Regions from separate parts of the Homo sapiens genome. Here region 1 is linked to region 2. The links are contacts of gene promoters, found by promoter capture Hi-C in human tissues and cell types (Jung and others, 2019). All regions are on one chromosome and are shown on one strand. Each heading gives the region's core, a stretch centred on a gene start or on the middle of the fragment in contact. The rest is flanking DNA. Distances are from core to core; before and after follow the strand shown. Region 1 has its middle 30 kb from the start of OR56A1. Region 2 holds the start of OR56B4 (olfactory receptor family 56 subfamily B member 4).

Region 1 (4,697 bases), core at 1,343-3,842, 47 kb after region 2:
TGTTCCTCTAGTCAATCTAGGGGCTACTTTTGGCTTTGCCCAGGTGTGTCTGTGAGAGCTCTGGGACCTGCCAGTTGGTAATAACATCCTGCCTGCCCAGTGCCTTGCTCACAGTCACCATCACTGCCTTGGTAAGGTATCAAGAATGACCTTCCTTTCAGGGTGACGATGACAGAACCAGCGACCCCTGGTGCACAGAAATTCAGGTGTGAAAAATGAGGTCAGTTTTGGGGCTCATGGTGGGGGAAGACTACAGCCAGCTGACTCCTGCCCTTCTCATTTTCCCTGTGACAGAGGTTATTTTTTGGCTTGGCTAGTGTGACTCTGAGTTTCCCAATACGTCTGGTCTGACACTTCTTCGTAGTCTTTATTTCCCCCTGAGTTAAAGTAGTTGCTCTCTCCGGGCCTGACTTCTCAAAATGAAGCCTCTCCTAGTTTCTACCATTTAGATGCTAGTGGGAAGGGAGGCTCTTCTGTGAAATGTGACCTATTTCTCTATCCTTAATCTCCTTCTTAACAGTGGCCTGGACTCTATGACAGTGGGAAAAAAAGAAAGATAAGAAAGAATACAGATGGAGAGAGATTAGGGGACGGCTCATTGCTGCAAGTTAACTTGTGTGCCTACAGGTGCCTACCAATCTCTTTAAGCCTTCATGATCAGCCTGAGGCATTCACAGGACCATTTAGCATGGTCCTAGGTGGCATCCTCACCATCAAATATCATGCATGTAGATACAGTTTACCCATGTGTTGCCAAAGCTAGTACTCATGTTTCATATCTTTGGGAAACTTTAGCTGTACAGACCTCGAGGGATGCATTTGATGTCCTCTTTGGCATTCAGAGACTGCTGTGCAGCCCTTCTGAAGAGAAAGTCCTCTTTATCATTGTTACACATAAGCTAAGGCAGAAGACCATTGTGGAGGTTGAACAGAGGACTCAGGGTGTTCCTGGAGATGAGCAGGGAGGGCTATAACAGAACCTTCCTGAATCTGGGAATTTTCTCCCTTTCCTAGTTTTCTTTGTGCTGCTGAGTCTCCCTCCAGGTTGACCCAAGACTTTAAAGGGCACATCCTCAAAGACAATCCAGAGACCAGTAGGACAGTGCCCTTTGCCAGGCTTACTTTATTGATTATCTATGTGTCTCCGATTTGTGCAGTGAAGCTCTGCCTCTTAGTGCTTGATTTCTGTATCTTCCTCTCTTATTAGGTCATTATCATGGACCCACTATTTCTGTGTCCTCCACTGCTCTTTTTCTGCCTAGGTTCTTGTCTCCTTTCCTCCCGACTATCATAGAGTCCAGATCACTGCTGAGAAAGAGATTAAAGAGAGAGAGAGACAAGTCACATCCCATAGAGGCCTCCCTGCCTGCTAGGAGCAGAAGTGACTACCAGTGACCACAGGAATCCCCTTATTTCTGACACATCTAGGATTTCTTTATCACTTCTTTGCATGCGAGATAGTGATGAATCAGCAGGGATCTTTCTGCCATGAAGCACCCAGAGCATCACTTAAGGTGAGGACTGTCAACACTCAATCAGTAATCCCCTCAGACGGCAACCCAGTGTCTGCTACTTTATTCCTTTACTTAAATTCAGTCTCTGCCTTATCAAATTTTCATAATCTTCAGCCTTTTAAGACACTCATACACTTATTTATTTATTATTTAATCTAATCATATGGATATTTATTCAACCAACATTACTGATTACCGACTGGATTCTAGGTGCTTCTGGAGCTTGCCCTGGGGCTGCTGCAATAAGCAAGGCATAGTCCCTGCTTTTTAAAGTGCAAGGTCATCAATGCAATGACAAAGTGGTAAAGACATCACAAAGGGAAAGAAAAGGAGACACATTATGCTGTCTTACAGAATTCAAGCACAACTTCACAGAAGATAGGTTGCTTAGATTGAATGTAGATGAATAAGTAGTAGTTCAACAGCATCAGCTCTTCGCTAATTGTCCCCTGCTTTCTGGTTGGAGAACTAAATAGAGCTTCACTTTTAGGTTCTTGGGAATAAAGTCCCTTCTGCTTTTCTTCTAAGAATCACAGAGGGATCTCCTATTTACTTTAATAATTAGTGCTTAATAAGCAGATGTAGGCTTTTGCTCTAGTCTCACAAGCCATGCAGCATAAAAAAGAAGCAGATTATATTCAGGTTCGTGTCTCTGCCCCTCTGCTTCACCTTCTGTAGTACGGTTTCAGTCTCACTGCTTTATGCACACTGTTTCTATTAAAGCCACGGGTGCCTTCCACAAACACATACCTGTTCTTCAACTTCTCAGCTATAAAATGAGAAATGAGCTGATGGTTGTAACAGAAGGGGAGTAGCTAAGAAAGAGAATTAACTTCCTCAGTATGTGGAATATTAAGCACTGAAAGGTGATTTTTTTTTTTTTTTTTGCAAGAGTATAAGATTCCCCTGGAAGTCTCAATAAAAATGTCATCATTATTTTAAGTTGACTCTTGAAGAAAGACAAAGGCTGGGAGACATATGCCCACCTAGAATTTCAGAACTTATAGTTGTTATATTGAGAGTTTGGGGGCAATATGATAGTTCCCAAACATTATTGATTTGTAAAAAAGACACACTGAGTGATCTATAGATGCATAATCCACAAGAACTGAGTCATTCTTGACTTTTAAAAATCTTCACATGTACATGTACACGAACCACCACCCCAACAAAGAAAAATATAGTTGTTTCAGACTACATCTGTCTTTTAAGATAAACATACAGACACAAATGTAACCAGTTGCAAGTTTCTTATTTTAATACTTGAGGGGTGAATCCCATGGAGAAGGTTAAACAGACAGCTGTTTATTCAATAGTTCATGTTAACGTGGGGTGTCAGAGACACTGAATTGCTATAACATCATGATGACAGGTAAACATATCAAAAGTTTGAATCAGAGAAGCAGAGTCATGAAGACAAAGAAGAAAGGAAAGGTAATTATAGTTATCTTTTTAAACATTAATAATATTGCTATTAATATTTGCCATTACTTTCAACGGCAAAAATCACAATTACTTTTGTACCAACTTAATAAAAGATGACTAAGAGCTCATAGCCATCTTTTATTAGTAACATTAAAAAAGAACTATAATTTATAGACTATACTTTATAAGGTAACCTATATATCAAGACTTTACATACATTAGTTAAAATTTTTAGTATTTAAGATTAATATTATTTATTCTAATATGAAATAAGGAAATTAAGACTTAGAGAGTTTTAGAAGCCTAGCAAGATTTTATTCCTAGAATATGAAATGGACAGAATTTTAACAAACTTTGCCCGCAAAGCTTGTATTTATCACACTGCATTGTGAAGCATCCATGCTAGCTTATAATCATGACATGTAATGAGATACAGTTCTTTAAAACAAGCCATTAAGATGCTGACAGGATTTCTATGATGGAGATAAGCAAGAAAGTTATGGATGAACAAAGAAGGATCATAACATACAGTGCTCGTGACATAATCACTCTTGACCTAACACAGCCAATGAGTCCTTTTGAGCAGCAGAAGAGAGTAGACTCTAAATTTTCAAGAGTGAGGAAGACCAATTCAGATAAAGGAAGTGGAAGAAAGACTACACAAAAGGCATATGTAAAATAGGAGAGTTTAGTCATATAACTCCAAGAATGTTGGAATGGTTTAGTAAAACATACATGTAGAAATATGTTAACTGTAAGACCAAAGTAATACACAATAGATAACCCTTGAAAACCTTTAATGCAGTCTTAAGAGTATGATTTTATTCCATGCAATAGATTCACTGAAGGATTTTAGCCATAGGCACGACATAACGACATCTGCATTTTAGGAAAAACCTGACTTTAAGGTTGAGAGTGAATTGGGAAGATGTTTACAGCAAAGGCAGAGAGATGTAATGAAACAGTACAGGTGAGAGAAGTTGGATGTTTGACATCGGGGGTTGAAAACAGGAGTGGATATAACAGCTATGTGTTAAAAATGCAGTTAACAGGAATTGGCGAATGGGGAAAAGGGATGAGAGATAAGAATAAGTAAAGATAGTTTCCGAGTTTCTAGATTGGGTTTGGTAGATGGATAGTAATGTAATTCATAAAAATATTGCCAAAGGTAGGTAGGACAGATTTAAGAAGGATAGATGAATTAATTTAGTTTTGAATATGTTGAGGCTATAGTATAGCTATTCAGGAAGCAAATGGAAAGAATGATTTGTGTTTCAGAAAGATATTTGACTTAGAAACACAGATTTGAAAGAAATAAAAGTAGATAGATAAAACTATGAAAGTGGATGAGGTCAATTCAGAGATAATGTACTGAATAGGGAAAAGAGGAGAGGATGGATCCCTGGAATCAACAACATAATGAGATGGAGAAAATGGTGGGACTGAGGCTATAGGAGAAACAACTCTAGAGTGCCACTTCACGGAAACTGAGGGAGGCTAATTTCAAAAACAACAGTTTAATTTACTGTGTTCAGTAACGCCAAGAGGCTAATAAAGAGAACCCTTTGAAGTTGGCAGCTTCAAAACATAAGCAACTGAATGGTTAAAGCTTATGCATCTCTCCCAAAACAGTGTATGTTTACTCTTATCTCTAAAAAAACTAGACCTATTCTAATTCAGACATGTGGATGTCTCACCTGTAAAAAAATTTATCTCCACCAAAGATTTTCTTTCTTGTATCTAACTTTATTCCCTTTG
Region 2 (4,812 bases), core at 1,901-4,400:
ACACATGTCCACAGAAGTTGTTGAGAGTGGCCTACAATTTGGGCTGCTGTGCATAGACTCATGCTATGTATTTTTGAATGAATGAATAAATAAACAAATAAATAAATAAAGGTATGTATGAATGAAAGTTTAAAGGCAGCTTTGAGGATGGCACACTATTGCCATCTACCAGAGACAGCTAAACTGCCTGAGCCTCAGTACTGCCACTTCCCAGTGGGTGAATTTATATAATTACCCAAACTTAGCCCCTATTTCTTTGTAGAAAAGAATTAATAGTAATCCTTTAACAGCTTCCTAATTAAGAGGACTGCTATGAAAATTATGTGAAATTACTCAATCCACTGTGGGAAAGTATTTTGCAAACTGTGAAGAACTCTGCAGGATTAGATGTTATTACTCTGATCCTTCAGGGTAACAAACCATGGGAGGTTGAGTTAAGTTAAAATCCTTTCTGTAATTGTCTCTCTCTTGCCTCCTCTTATTAGATGATCAGTTGCTTCCATTTGAATCACTGTCAAGAAAGAATGAAGCAGCCAATTCTTTTGGAGGAAGTTGATAGTCTCTTTTTGGGTAAGTTTCCAAGCATAACTCTTAAGAAGTCCTGTCCCGCACACAGATGACTTCCCCCTGCAGCTCTGTTATGCTGCCCAGCATGCATTACTCTGGTGAGATGAGCTGATGGTTTCTGATGTTGCTTTAGTCCTTGTGCTATTTCCTAAGAAGTTGTTTTCCAAGGTGGACTCATGTGCAAACTTCCTGAGGTCATTATTCAGACCATGGTCCAGGTATTTTCTTTGATACACATAATTCAACAGATCTATAATGCTCCCTGATTATATAATGAATTAAGCACCTACTGTGTGCAATGTTCTGACTGAGGCTCATTGAAAGTACACATGAATGGTTCTTGTACTCAAAAAGTGTGCAATTTTTTTAGGTGAGCAAACAGCAAAAATTCAGTTAGCTTTAATTAACAGGTTATTTGAAACTATTTTTATAGGGCATTTTCTAGGATCCATTTTCTTCCTTTCCTAGCAAGAAAACTGCCACATAGTTAGATTTATATTTCCATGTGTATATCTTATTTCAAAGCATGTATTCTTTATCTCTTTTGATTGTCACAGCATGTTTGCGATTTGGCTCAGCAAAATGTTATGATTTTTGTCACTTTTAATCAGAAGAATTGAAACATAGGGAGGTTTCATAAGTTGTTCAAGTTCACACAGAAATTTTGGAACAGAGCAAGACTGAGAGTAAGAATAGTGCTATGGTTTTTCAATCAGACTTCCCAGGACTTGAATCCCAGCTCTCCCACTTAGAAACTGTGCTGTCAGGGGGCAAGTTCTATAATTTCCAGTGCCTGAGTTTTCTTAGCTGGAAATTGGGAATAATATTGTACCTGCCCAAAGGGTTATTGTGAGAATTGAGTCAGATAATCTACATACATATTTTATCAAAGTTTCTGGCCTACAAGAAGTATTTAACACTTGTTAACCATTAATTCATTAATTATTGAGATTTTTTTGGGTACGAAAATTAAACTTTACTCCTTTTTAATAAACATTTATTGTTTACTTTTTATTATAAAAATTACATATGAAAAGCACATAAATATGTAAGAGTTAAATATGTGTAAATATTAAAGGCTTTGTTTTCTATTATTAGTCATATTATAATGATTTTTATGAATAACTTTTTGACTGCATTTAGACTATTTCTTTTGGATATTTTTCTAAAATAGAATTACTGGTTAAGAACATTTAAACATTTATAAACATTTTGATAAATTTTACCAAATTGCTTTTTGGTGTGTTTATAGTCCTACCAGTTGTGTAGGAAAGTGTTAATCTCGGGGTAGGCTAGCAGTAATAGTTAGAAACATTTCACTTTTTTGTTCTTACTTATTTTCCAGGTAATAGGAAATTTTCTTGTAATTTTAATATACATATTTTGATTAGTGAGGCTGACAGTTTTCATGATTTTATTGGCCATTTTTTTCCTAGGGAGTGTGGTAAGTGCAGATTATAACCCTGATCTATTGAGAACTAAAACCTCTGTCATTTCCTAACATCTTACTGGATTCCTAAAGCTGGAGTTACTTGGACACGTCCTGACCCAGTCCAAGCAGTCTCTGAAAGCCCAGTCTGAGTTTGTGCATCCTGAGTGCACAGGCCAGGGGGTTGAGTGCAGGGGGGATGACATTGTGCAGCACATTAAGGAACACAGGAATAAGGGGAATCTTTTTCTCTGCAAGGTGTGTGACAGACAGCACAATGATACCTGTGTGGAAGAGGATGAGGATGAGGTGGGAGCTACAAGTGCTCAGAGCCTTGGACATTGCTTCTGCTGAGTTCAGCCTCAGCACAGAGTGAAGGATTACAGCATAGGAAGAAAATACCAGAGCCATATCACTCCCAACCAAGACCCATGCTAGCATCAGTTGGTAAAATTTGTTCACAGTGATGTCATCACAAGCCAGGCTGATAACCCCCAAGTTAGAGCAGAGGCAGTGCTCGATTTCATTCCTGGAACAGTAGTGTCTCTGGGCAGCCAGTATAGGCACTGGGATGGTCAACAGGCCATTCCTGAGCATGATGAACCCTGTGGCTTTGAAGACAAAAGCTTTAGTGACTATGGAGGGGTACTGAAGAGGGCGACAGATGGCTATGTATCTGTCTACTGCCATGCAGAGAAAGATGCCTGACTCTATGCAGAAGAAGCAGTGGATGGCATAGATCTGAGCAAAACACATGGGGAGGCTAATGGCCTTGGCATCAAACCAGAAGATGGCCAGGATCTTGGGCATGATGGTGGTGGCCAGGCCAATGTCCACCACTGCTAATATGCCCAGCAAATGGTACATGGGTTCATGTAGCACGGTCTCATGTTGAATGGTGATTATGATGAGGAGATTGGCACCAAGAGCTAAGAGGTAGAGCAGAGTCAGGGGCAGGGAGAGCCAGTGCTGCCACTCATGAATGCCTGGTAATCCCATCAGGATGAACTGGGAAATCTGGAGGCTGGAGTCATAGGTAACACTGGTGGAGGTATCCATGGAATGGGTGCCTCAGTCTCAGTGTCTGTCTGAAATAGAAGAAATCTCTGTTTAAAAGTTCAGCTAAGGGGCTGAGCATCGTGGTTCATGCCTGTAATCCCAGCACTTTGGGAGGCTGAGACAGGCAGATAATTTGAGGTCAGGAGCTCGAGACTGACCTGGCTAACATGGCAAAATCTCATCTCTGCGGAGAATACAAAAATTAGCTGGGTGTGGTGGTGCCTGTCTGTAATCCCAGCTACTTGGGAGGCTGAGGCATGAGAATCATTGAACCTGGGAGGCGGAGGTTGCCGTGAGCCGAGATTGTGCCACTGCACCCCAGCCTGGACAACAGAGTGAGACCCTGTCTTAAAAAACAAAACAAAACAAAAAGTTAAGTGTCTTGGTAAGAGCTCCTCAATAATGAACCAGCTCCTTTTATTCATGAATGACCCTCAACTTTATTTGACTTCTGGAAATATTCCACAGAGGAATAACAAAAAAAGCAAAAAAATTCTAAACAGAAGAGTTGGAATAACTATTTTTCATCACCACTTGTATGTCTAATAAGCATGTCCACATATATTAACAACAGTCTTATCACTAACAGATAACAAATGTTAGTATTTGATTTATTTCCAATTTTCTATTTTATTTTTAAACAGTCTACATCATTATCTAGAGATGATTTTGTATCTTGTTTTTGTCTTTTAGCAGTATGTGTTAAGATGTAATATAAGCACTCAAAAATTTTATTTCATGGATGAATACATTAACCAAAGACTTCACAATATTATTTAAAAAGTGTGATGTTAATTTTAATTGCTGCTTTAAATTTTTGCATTTGGCTATTCTATAATTTACTGACAGGTATTTTGCTTTTAATATTGTTTTCCTTGAGTAGAGTTTCAAAAGTGATGCAAAAATTATATATACAAAGGATATAATAGTCTTAAAATTTTAAATATAATTTTGATTTTATTTTAAGATATATTATCTATACATGGTAAAAATCAAAATAAAATGAAAAATATAAACAATGAAAAGTAAGACTCTCATGCTTGGGGCTTTGAAATCTTTTTCCTTTTCACTAGAGGCAGCCAGTAATATGTTTCTTGGGAATCCTTCCATTAATAGTTTATGCATGGATAAAAACATATATATATATATATATATATATATATAATTTTCATAAAAGACATAATCAATTGTTAGCACACCTTTCTCCTTTTTTCTTTCCTTTTCTTTTTTAACTTAATATTTTGAAGACTGCTCCATATTTCCATACTGCAGTTAAGTTGCATTATTTTCTACCACCTAGATGCCCTATAGTTTAATGATTTTTTTTTGTATTTTTAGAATTGATATATCATATTTGTAGATATTTTGGAGGTACATGTGATATTTTGATACATGTATACAATGTGTAATGATCGAATCAGTGTAATTAGGATATCCATCACCTCAAGCATTTATCTTTTCTTTGTGTTAGGAACATTGCAATTCTCTTTTAGCGATTTTGAAACATACAGTAAATTATTAACTATAATTTTCCTACTGTGCTATTGAATACTAGAACTTATTTCTTCCACCTAACTGTATTTTTGTCCCCATCAGCCACCCTCTATTCTTCCCCTACCCCCACCCTTTCCGGCCTCTGGTAACCACCATTCTATTCATTACTTCTGTGAGATCCACTTTTTTTCTTTTTCCGGCTCACTGCAAACTCCACCTCCCAGGTTCAAGCGATTCTCCTGCCTCAGCCTCCCGAGTAGCTG

The links. Contacts are between HindIII fragments. The study calls those that stand out against the background at their distance.
Region 1: a fragment that was not itself captured here is called in contact with the fragment with the promoter of OR56B4 in region 2 in 1 of the 25 tissues and cell types used here (liver).

Annotation. Positions count from the first base shown.
Region 1 is chr11:6,058,365-6,063,061 of GRCh38, reverse strand. No RefSeq gene overlaps it. Among named protein-coding and RNA genes, the nearest start is that of OR56A1, 30 kb to the right of the region's middle. The HindIII fragment of the contact is 6,047 bases long and covers 1-4,697 here.
Region 2 is chr11:6,106,022-6,110,833 of GRCh38, reverse strand. It overlaps OR56B4 (olfactory receptor family 56 subfamily B member 4), which reads right to left and starts at 3,150. Exons shown (of 1, transcript NM_001005181.2): 1 at 1,999-3,150. The coding sequence starts at 3,055. The coding sequence ends at 2,096. LOC124902622 (a long non-coding RNA gene) reads left to right here. Exons shown (of 3, transcript XR_007062565.1): 2 at 486-570. The HindIII fragment of the contact is 6,854 bases long and covers 593-4,812 here.